Regions from separate parts of the Homo sapiens genome. Here region 2 is linked to region 1. Evidence: promoter capture Hi-C in 16 types of primary human blood cells and fetal thymus (Javierre and others, 2016). All regions are on one chromosome and are shown on one strand. Each heading gives the region's core, a stretch centred on a gene start or on the middle of the fragment in contact. The rest is flanking DNA. Distances are from core to core; before and after follow the strand shown. Region 1 holds the start of PGM3 (phosphoglucomutase 3). Region 2 has its middle 4.1 kb from the start of BCKDHB.

The links. Contacts are between HindIII fragments. The CHiCAGO score rates a contact against its expected background, and 5 or more counts as called.
Region 2: a fragment that was not itself captured here is called in contact with the fragment with the promoter of PGM3 in region 1 in 1 of 17 cell types (non-activated CD4 T cells); the score reaches 5.0 in non-activated CD4 T cells.

The regions. Positions count from the first base shown.
Region 1 is chr6:83,190,901-83,195,798 of GRCh38, forward strand. PGM3 (phosphoglucomutase 3) reads right to left here and starts at 2,365. Exons shown (of 13, transcript NM_015599.3): 1 at 2,279-2,365; 2 at 1-114. The coding sequence starts at 112. RWDD2A (RWD domain containing 2A) reads left to right here and starts at 2,457. Exons shown (of 3, transcript NM_033411.5): 1 at 2,457-2,543; 2 at 3,412-3,752; 3 at 4,695-4,898. The coding sequence starts at 3,552. RefSeq lists silencers at 2,016-2,085, 2,386-2,755 and an enhancer at 2,328-2,827. The HindIII fragment of the contact is 15,181 bases long and covers 1-4,898 here.
Region 2 is chr6:80,100,101-80,105,055 of GRCh38, forward strand. No RefSeq gene overlaps it. Among named protein-coding and RNA genes, the nearest start is that of BCKDHB, 4.1 kb to the right of the region's middle. The HindIII fragment of the contact is 3,199 bases long and covers 644-3,842 here.

The DNA of each region.
Region 1 (4,898 bases), core at 1,115-3,614:
CATGATCAAGATGTTCTGCCTTCGTTCGAAATCCAGCAGTCCCGTATTGAAGGATCAGTCCATTGGGCTTGGCGTGTAATGCTGAGTATTTTGTAATAGCACCTAAATCCATGTCTACAAAATTAAGAAATATTGTTTCGGGCATAACAAGTAATTTCTTAAGAACCATTTGCTTCAAAAACTGCCACCCCAAACGAATAGGTCTGTCTCATCCTGAACCTCCTCAAAGAACCCTATGTTTGACAGAGCAATGGGCAGGAGAGTAAGTCCTGTGGGTTAGAATTACCTACAAGATGTTGTCCAACTTGGTATGTCCACTCCTGGGCAGACTCAGGGCAGATAGCAGATTGTCCCCACTCTCCTCCCATTTTAGCTCCAGGACTATCCTGGACGCCGGGCACACTTAAATTGGTCCACTCTCAACTAAAATGAAGATTTTACACCTATTCAGAGACTCCAATGAGCTCAAAGATCATTTCATTTTACAAAAAGGGAAACTAACCTAAATTAACATAGATAGCTGGTGACGGATTGAGGCCTAAAGTCAGATTCTTGAGTGGACTGAAACTACATATCCCCAAATATCTGAGAAATCTTTGTGGTTCTTTTGCTATTTCTCCCAAACTACAGAGACATATTCTTAAAGGAAAAGCAAAAGGCAACAGTTTCTTCTCCAAGACTACCCAGATCTTTTTCCATTTGCTAAAAACAATCAGGACACCCTTCTAAGATGTTGCTCTAAAACTAGCAATATCTTCTTCTGAAAGAATGCCACCTTTTTCCTTTACTTTTAAAAATAAAACATCGGCCGGGAGCGGTGGCTCACGCCAGTAATCTTAGCACTTTGAGAGGCCAAGGCAGGCGGATCACCTGAGGTCAGGAGTTTGAAACCAGCCTGGCCAACATGGCGAAACCGCCTCTCTATTAAAAATACAAAAAAATTAGTCGGGCGTGTTAGCTGGCGCCTGTAATCCCAGCTACTCGGGAGGCAGAGGTTGCAGTGAGCCGAGATCGCGCCACTGCACTCCAGCCTGGGTGACAAAGGGAGACTCGGTCTCAAAAAAAAAAAAAAAAAAAAAAAACAGGCCAGGTGAGGTGGCTCAGGCCTGTAATCCCGGCATTTTGGGAGGCCAAGGCGGGCGGATCACGAGGTCAGGAATTCAAGACCAGCCTGACCAACATGGTGAGACCCTTGTCTCTACTAAAAATACAAAAAGTAGCCTGGCGTGGTGGTGCGCGCCTGTAGTCCCAGCTACTCAGGAGGCTGACGCAGGAGAATCGCTTGAACCCGCGGGTGGAGGTCGCAGTGAGCCGAGATCGCGCCACTGCACTCCAGGCTGGGCGACAGGGTGAGACTCCGTCTCAAAACAAACAACAACAAAAAATCGGCCCTTAGCCCACTAATACTGTTTTCTCTGGGATACTCCCATTAAGTGGAACTTGGGGTTTCCAACCTCAGTCAGTAGTTTTCCTTCAGTAGTCCATATACTACATTTCCTGGGTCAATTAATTCCCAATTAGCCCAGAGATGAGGAGCAGTCCGCCAGCTGCTAGCCTCATAATTTTGTTTTCTTTATTGTCCTTCATTGCTTCAATGAACAGAACTTGCAAGAAATGGTGAAAAATACTTGCTTTTGTCCAGTTGGAAAAAGCTGGCATTCAGTAAACTAATTTAGTTCAAGACAGTGATCAGATCTCTTTCCTAAGGATGAATACATATTTGTAAAAACTGAGCAGTCAGTTATGTGTCATGATTATTCATAAGAGTGTAAACCAGTCCTGTTAACTCCAAAAAGCCATTAAAAAAAAAAAGGTCCAGATAATATGAGTTCATCCTTTCATGCGTTTTAGGCCCTACAACTACTTTCAATGCCTCTGCGAATGCCTTTATTGAAAGCATATTTGCCAAATCCAGCGTCCACGCAAAAAGTTAAGAGTATCCCCCTACTCTCCATTCAATCTTCAAATCTCCTTGGTGCCTCTCTCCCGCCTACCCTCGAATCACCGCACAAGGGTGATTCCCGGCACTCCACCCTGAGGTCCCCGCCTAGGTCCACGTACCAGAGCCCCGGCAGGAGACCCGCGGCCCGTCCCGACCAGCCCGCCCGCGGGGCGCAGGGGCCTGTAGGTGTGTCCCGCGCGCTCCGCCGCTCGGTCAGTCGCCCGCCAGACCACTAGCCCCTCCGTCGGGCCGAGAATCTGACCTGTCCCGCTCCCACCGAGCCCTTGCCGACCGGTAGTCTCCCTTCTCAACTCCGAGCCTCGGGGCCCGGCTTACCTCGGTCAGGAAGCCCCCTTCACCTACACGCAGCGGAGAAGCGCCCAAGCAACAACGTCTGCACCCAAACCCAGTCCTCAGAACCGCAGACGTGGCCCTGCGTGGCTTCCGGCTCGTCGCCACGCCCCCTGGCCAATCACGGCAGAGGACTATCCGCCAGCCCCGCCCCCGCCTCGCCGCAGGTCGCGCGCAGCTGGCGCCTGAGGAACTGCGGCTGCGGTTCCGAGCGGGGTCTGGGGCTGTTACCATTGAGTGACCAGAAAGGGTGAGGCCCCCGCGGTGGCCCGGGGGTTGGGGCCGAGGGTCGCGGGCCCTCAGAGCACTGCGGCCGCGGAGGCACAGCCTCCGCCTCCAAATCCGGGCCTCTGGGGGCGGCAGGCCCTGCGTTCCTGGGAAGCCGGGGTTCCTAGTGGTCTTGGCTAGGGGCGGGGGTGGGGAATCAGCCCCGTCGCTGGGCCTCGGACAGGGCGACCTCGCCCACAGTGAGCGCCGCCGGCGGCCCGCATCCCCCTCTCCGACGTCGAGGTCATCTCCCAAACCTTTGAATCTGGGAAGCCTTCTCCGGCTGCCGTCTCCCCGGGTACCCCCTTCCCCCAGCTCACTGTAAACATCTTTTATTTAATGACCTCTGAGACACCCCCTACCCTTATCCTGGGTCCCTCGGGGCAGAGGCCAGTGAATCGTAAACGTCCGGAGCCCTGGAATGCGGCCCAAGCGAAAAGGCCACCGCGGTGTTGGGGGGGGGCGGTCCGCGAGTCCAGGACCGAGGGGTGGCGACTGGCGCTGGGGAACTCGGAGCCCATCCTGCTGGCACTGCGGCCTCTCTCGCCGCAGCGTCTGGCTCCGCCCAAGCCCGAGCCCCGGGTGGGATTGGAAGCCGGGCCCCAGCCTTTCCCAGAATTCAGGCTTGCAGAGCGTCTGCAGGTGTCTGCCTGCCACCTGCAGCGGGACAGTTCCAAACACCTGTTGAAAGTGCAGATTCCCCTATCTAGTGCGGGGTGCGGGAGGCGGGAACCCGGAGCCCGGGTACGCAGAATATGGGTTTTTACGGAGTGTTTTAGAGGATGTTGTGCATACTAGATTTTGGAGTCAGGAAATAAAGAAGAGTGCAAGTGTCTGGTTTGTGCCCCTAGCTCTCGGTGCAAAGCGTTCCTGCAGAATTGCTTCCACGTAAAGGGACCTTCGGGAAATTTCGCTGGATACCGGCTGGCATTGACAAACCCAGCGTCCCTGAGCCTTGTGAGGTTTCCAGGCAGGCTGATTGCGAGGCAACATGTCTGCTTCGGTGAAAGAAAGCCTTCAGCTTCAGCTACTGGAGATGGAAATGCTGTTTTCTATGTTTCCTAACCAAGGAGAAGTAAAACTTGAAGATGTAAATGCCCTGACGAATATAAAGAGGTATTTGGAAGGCACAAGGGAGGCGCTGCCACCAAAAATCGAATTTGTAATTACACTCCAGATTGAAGAGCCCAAGGTAGGTACCCTGATTTAAGTGTTTGCCAGGTGCCCAGTTTTTAATTGAAACATCTAGAACATGAGCTTTCTGTCAAGGAAAGATAGAAATATTCCAGGTGCATATTTCCTTGTTTGAAAGATACGGAATGCTCTATAAATTGTCTTCAGTAAATATCTTTAATTTTATGTAAACATATACACCTTTTTAACAAATATACCTGGAGTTTTTATTGACGCTATCTTGCAGTCTTATGCCATTATTATTTTGTTCACCCATCCAGTTGGACTACCTTTCACATGTATCATGATTTTCATAAATCTAAATATCTCCTGTAACATAACTGTCTTTTAAGGAGTGAATGAGTGGATTTTTTGATGGCACCATAACACAGAAAGCAAATATGGATGGAAAAATCTAAAGACTAAAAATGAATTTACCTCCATCTTCTGATCCATTTATCTCCAGCAACATTAGCATAGCATAGGTAATACGTGGACTGGGCATTTGAGAACCACTGTTGTAGCTATTTCCTACTCATCCTTCAGTTGTTATTCCCTCAGAGGAGACTTTCTGGTTCTCCAGACTGGATTCTGTCCCGCTGGTTACACACTTCAATGGAACCCTCCACTTTTCCATGGTAATGCTTTTCACAATTGAAATTAAATACTTGCTATATGTAATTATTTGTTTAATGTGTGTCTCCTTCACTAGGCCCTGGACTTCATGAAGGGCAAAAATAGTGTCTGGTTTATTCACTTTTTTATCCCAGCACAAGGGCACCTGGCACACGTAGTTGTTCAATAAATATTGAAATAATGCATAAAAGGAAGCAATCATGTATGTAAAGTACCTGGTACATTTAATAGTAGCAATAACATTTCTCAAAATCATGCAGTTGCTATTGATAAACTAGCTTATGTGATGTTATGGTATTTAAATCTATTTGATTTTCATTTTAAGGTGAAAATTGATTTGCAAGTGACCATGCCTCACAGCTACCCCTATGTAGCATTGCAGCTGTTTGGACGGTCATCTGAACTTGACAGACATCAGCAGCTACTTCTCAACAAAGGTCTCACTTCTTACATAGGGACTTTTGATCCAGGTGAGCTCTGTGTATGTGCAGCAATCCAGTGGCTACAGGACAACAGTGCATCTTATTTC
Region 2 (4,955 bases), core at 993-3,492, 3.1 Mb before region 1:
AAAATAATGTTGATTGAAACACTGTCTCTGGCACATGCAAGGCTCTCAGTACACACTAGTGAATAGTAGAATCAGAATTCTTAAAATTAGAAGTACGCTAAACCACCTGTAAATGAAGCATAAATCCTCCCAAGAGGCTCCCTCAATAGTGTTCATCCATTTCGTGCTTGACTATTTCAGTAATAGAGAATTCATTACTTCCCATGACAGTCTACTTAATAAGAAGCTCTTTATATTACACTAGAATTTGCTTCTTCCTGTTTCTTATTCTTCCCTCCGGAGCTAAATAGTAAATTTAACCCCTCTACAAGGGAGCCCATCAAACTTTGAGGGAGAGTTAATACATCACTTTTAAAATCTTATCTAGACCAAATATCTCTAGATTTTTAACCCTTCTCCAAATGACTTTAGGTCATATTTGAAGAAATCCACAAAACACTTTATAAAAACTCTTTAACCATGTAAACATCCTCCTAATAGTTTATCAAAAGCATCCATAGTTTATCAAAAGCATTCATCCAGTTAGCTTCTGTTCCTGCAACCAAGTCTCTGACTGTTATGCCCCTGTCCCCTGAAAGATATGTTGAGCTTGACACTCCCCTACCCCCAAACCCAGTACCTAACCCCTGGCCCTCAGAATTTAAGCTTATTTGGAAATAGGGTCATGGCAGATGTAATTGATTAAGTTAAGATGAGGTTAGATTGGAGCAGTGTGGGCTTCTAATCCAATATGACTGGTGTCCTTATAAAACGATAGCTGTGCAAAGATATGGAGACGGCATGTGGTAACAAACGCACATACTGGATTTATGCAACTGCAAGCCAAGGGATGACAAAGAATTCCAGAGAACCAACAAAAGGGAAAAGAAGAATTTTCCTACAGGTTTCAGAGGGCGCATGGTCCCACTGACACCTTGATCTTGGACTTGATCAGAATCGCAGACAATACGTTCCTGCAACCAGTTTGTGCTGCTTTGTGACAGCATCCCTAGGAAACAAATACATTGGCTTTGAGTATATTCTGGACTTTCTTTTGATTCCAACAGGATCATTCCACTTAGTAATTCAGTGAAGTAAGGAAAATCAGGGAGCTTTTCCATTATCCCGAGTCCTTAGTTGAAACCGATTTCATATGAACAGAGTCTGTGAACTAATACACTGGATGTTAAACATGCTGTAGGGGGAATGAATCTCTTCATCAACATATTTAGATGGGCAAATATAACTTTATTTTTCTGTAATTTAATTTTTAAATAATAGTGCTACTGATATATAATTTACATATCATGAAATTCATCCTTTTAATGTACAATTCACTGGTTTTTAGCATAGAGCAAAGTTGTGCAACCATCAACATTACTTAATTTTAGAACATTTTCATCACTCAAAAAATAAACTTTAGGCCGGGCGCGGTGGCTCACGCCTGTAATCCCAGCACTTTGGGAGGCGGAGGCGGGCGGATCACGAGGTCAGGAGATCGAGACCATCCCGGCTAAAACGGTGAAACCCCGTCTCTACTAAAAATACAAAAAATTAGCCGGGCGTAGTGGCGGGCGCCTGTAGTCCCAGCTACTTGGGAGGCTGAGGCAGGAGAATGGCGTGAACCCGGGAGGCGGAGCTTGCAGTGAGCCGAGATCCCGCCACTGCACTCCAGCCTGGGCGACAGAGCGAGACTCCGTCTCAAAATAAATAAATAAATAAATAAATAAATAAATAAATAAACAAACTTTATATCCATTAGCAGTCATTCCCTACCTCCTGTCTCTGTTGATTTGTCTATTCTGGACTTTTTATAAATGTAATTGTATAATATATAGTATTTTAAACTGGCTTCTTTCACTTAGCGTAATGTTTTCAAAGTTCATCCATGTAACACTACTTAATTACTCTTTATTGACAGATAATATTCTATTTACAGATATATCAGTTTTGTTTAACCATTCATCATTTCATGGGTATTTGGATTGTTTCCACTTTTTTGCTATTATGAATAGTGCAGCTACGAATATTTGTGTACTAGCTTTGGTGAATACACCTTTTCATTTTTCTTTGTTATATACTTAGGAGTGGAATTGCTGGGTCATAAGATAATTATGTTTAAAAAAACAAAAAAGGAAGAGAAATAGAAGAACAAAATTAAAAAGATAACTGTGTTTAACATTTTGCGGAACTGTTTTCCATAGCAGCTGCATCATTTTACAGTCCCACCAGTGATGCACAATGGTTCCAGTTGCTATACAGCCTCACCAACACATGTTATAGATTTCTTTTTATTTTAATCATCCTAGTGGATATGAAGTGGTATCTCATTGTGGTTTTGATTTGTATTTCTTTAATGACTATTGATGTTGAGAATCTTTTCTTATGTTCATTGGCCACTTGCATATCTTCTTTGGAGAAATGTCATTCAAATCCTTTGTCCATTTCTTTAAATAGGCTATGTTTTTTAGAGCAGTGTTAGGTTCACAAAAAATTTGAGAGGAGGGTACAGAGAATGTCCATATGCTTTCCCCAAATACAGAGCTTCCTTAATCATCAACATTTGCACTGCAGTGGCACATTTGTCACCATCAAGGAACCTACATTAACACACAGTTGTCAACCAAAGCCCATAGTTTACATTAGGGTTCACTCTTGGTGGTGTACGTTCTATGCATTTGGACGAATGTATAATGACATATTTATATGTCCACCATTATAATATCATACAGAATATTTTTCCTACCCTAAGAATCCTCTGTGATTTTCCATTTATCCCTTCCTGCTCCCAACCCTTGCAACCCCTCATCTCTTTTATTCTCTCCATAATTTTGCCTTTTCCAGAATGTCATATAGATGGATTCATATAGTATGTAGCCTTTTTAGATTGGCTTCTTTCACTTAGTCATATAAATTTAAACTTCTTCCATGTCTTCTGATGGTTAAATATTTTTTTTTCTTTTTTTTCTTTTTTTTGAGAGTCTCACTCTGTTGCCCAGGCTGGAGCACAGTTGCGTGATCTGGGCCCACTGCAACCTCTGCCTTCTGGGTTCAAGCGATTCTCCTGCCTCAGCCTCCTGAATAGCTGGGACTACAGGTGCACACCACCACGCCCAGCTAATTTTTGTATTTTTAGTAGAGACGGGGTTTCACCATGTTGACCAGGCTAGTCTCAAATTCCTGACCTCAGGTGATCCGCCCGCCTCGGCCTCCCAAAGTGCTGGGATTACAGGCATGAGCCACCACACCCAGCTTAATATTTCTTTTTAGTGCTGAATAATATTCCATTAAGTTTATTTGGTTGCTTCCAAGTTTGGGCAATTATGAATAAAGCTGCTGTAAATATTCTGCACAGGTTTTAATGTGGACATACATTTTTAGCTTATTTGGGCAAATACCAAGCAGCACTACTGCTGGATTTCATGGTGAGAATATGTTAGTTTTATAAAAAACTAAACTGTGTTGCAAAGTGGCTATACCATTTTGCATTGCCACAATCAATGAATGAGAATTCTTTGCCCATTTTCTAATTGGGTAATTTTTCTTTTCTATTGTTGCGTTTAAGACTTTCAATCAGTATATTCTAGACACAAGTCCTTATCATTCTGATTGCTGGGTCTCCTCAAGTTCCCTGGATCTTGTTGCCATAGCTGCATCTCTCTTGGCCACATGGGAGAAGCATCCTGCTGTTTCAAATGCCATGACATGCTGGGTAGCCTGAGGATTTAGTGATACTTTTCTAGGTTCATCTACAAAGGAGGATACCTACAGGTCTTTCTAATCTATAGCTGTACCTCCATGGAAGGTGAGACAAACCATCTCTTATACTGGTATGTGATTTACAATCTTTTCTTTTAGCCCTAAGCTTTGTTTCCTAACTCATTCAGGTTTTTGAGGTTTAATACTCAGAAACCAGTCTGTAGAATTCAAACTTTTCTCTCAAATTATTGTCTCTGCTATCAAGTTTAAAATCTATTTTAAAATTCAAAAGCAATAATTTGATTTCTTTTTTTTCTGCCTCCATGATACCTCTGTTTGAGTTTGAAAGGAGGCAGATGCCAGGATGTAATACTGCAAAACTATCATCTTGCTATATAAAATGGTCGTCTAAAAGCAAGCTGAGACTAAACAGGTACAAGTTGCACAGGTAGTGAAGCTCAGTGAGAGCAAGTGATGCAAGAGTCATTCTGAAGGGTGAAGAGCAACTTTGCTTTGTATTCCAACTCCATAGTCATGGGTTCTGCAATTGGAAATAGCTTAAACAAAGAGGGGAATACATTTTAAGGATACGGTGATGTCTCATAGAACCCCAGGACCAGAAAGCAGTTAGGCCTTGGGAATAAATGGAATCAGGAACTCAAATATAATCACACTCTTCACCTTTTCTGGTTCACGAAATTACTGAAAACTCCCATTTTTTGCAGTTCCTAGTGGCATTTAAAGATAATCTGATCTTTCTTTCTAAACTACACTTCCAAAATTCCCAGAAAAGGACAGTTTCCCAAATTGAGTAAATGTGGCCAGGGCAAGGGGAATGGAGGAAAGTCCCACTGTAATAACATAGACATTTTCATGGTTACCAGGCAAATGGTGTGGTAGAGATGGGGAAAATTTAAAAAATCAGTTTGCAAAACAGGTGAATCTGGCAGGTGCTCTGTTTGTTTTTCCTGGCTGCATGTAGTTGAAAGTTCAAACCTCTTAGACCTTCAAAATCTCCCTTTAATCTGTTTTTCCTACTTTTTCTGTTAACCCTGTATCATTCCCTACACCCTGAATCTAGAAGCACCAAGCTATTTTCTCTTCCTGGAATGCACTGTGCTCTTCATGCCTATCAGCCTTTATACAGGTTTCTTCTTAGTTTGGAATGCCATTTTCTCCCTAGTCTGCCTGGTAACTTCTAGTCATCTTTTAGGTCTAGCTCAGAGTTATATCTGGAAACACTTGACTTTCAAATAAGAGTTTATTGCTCTTTTTGT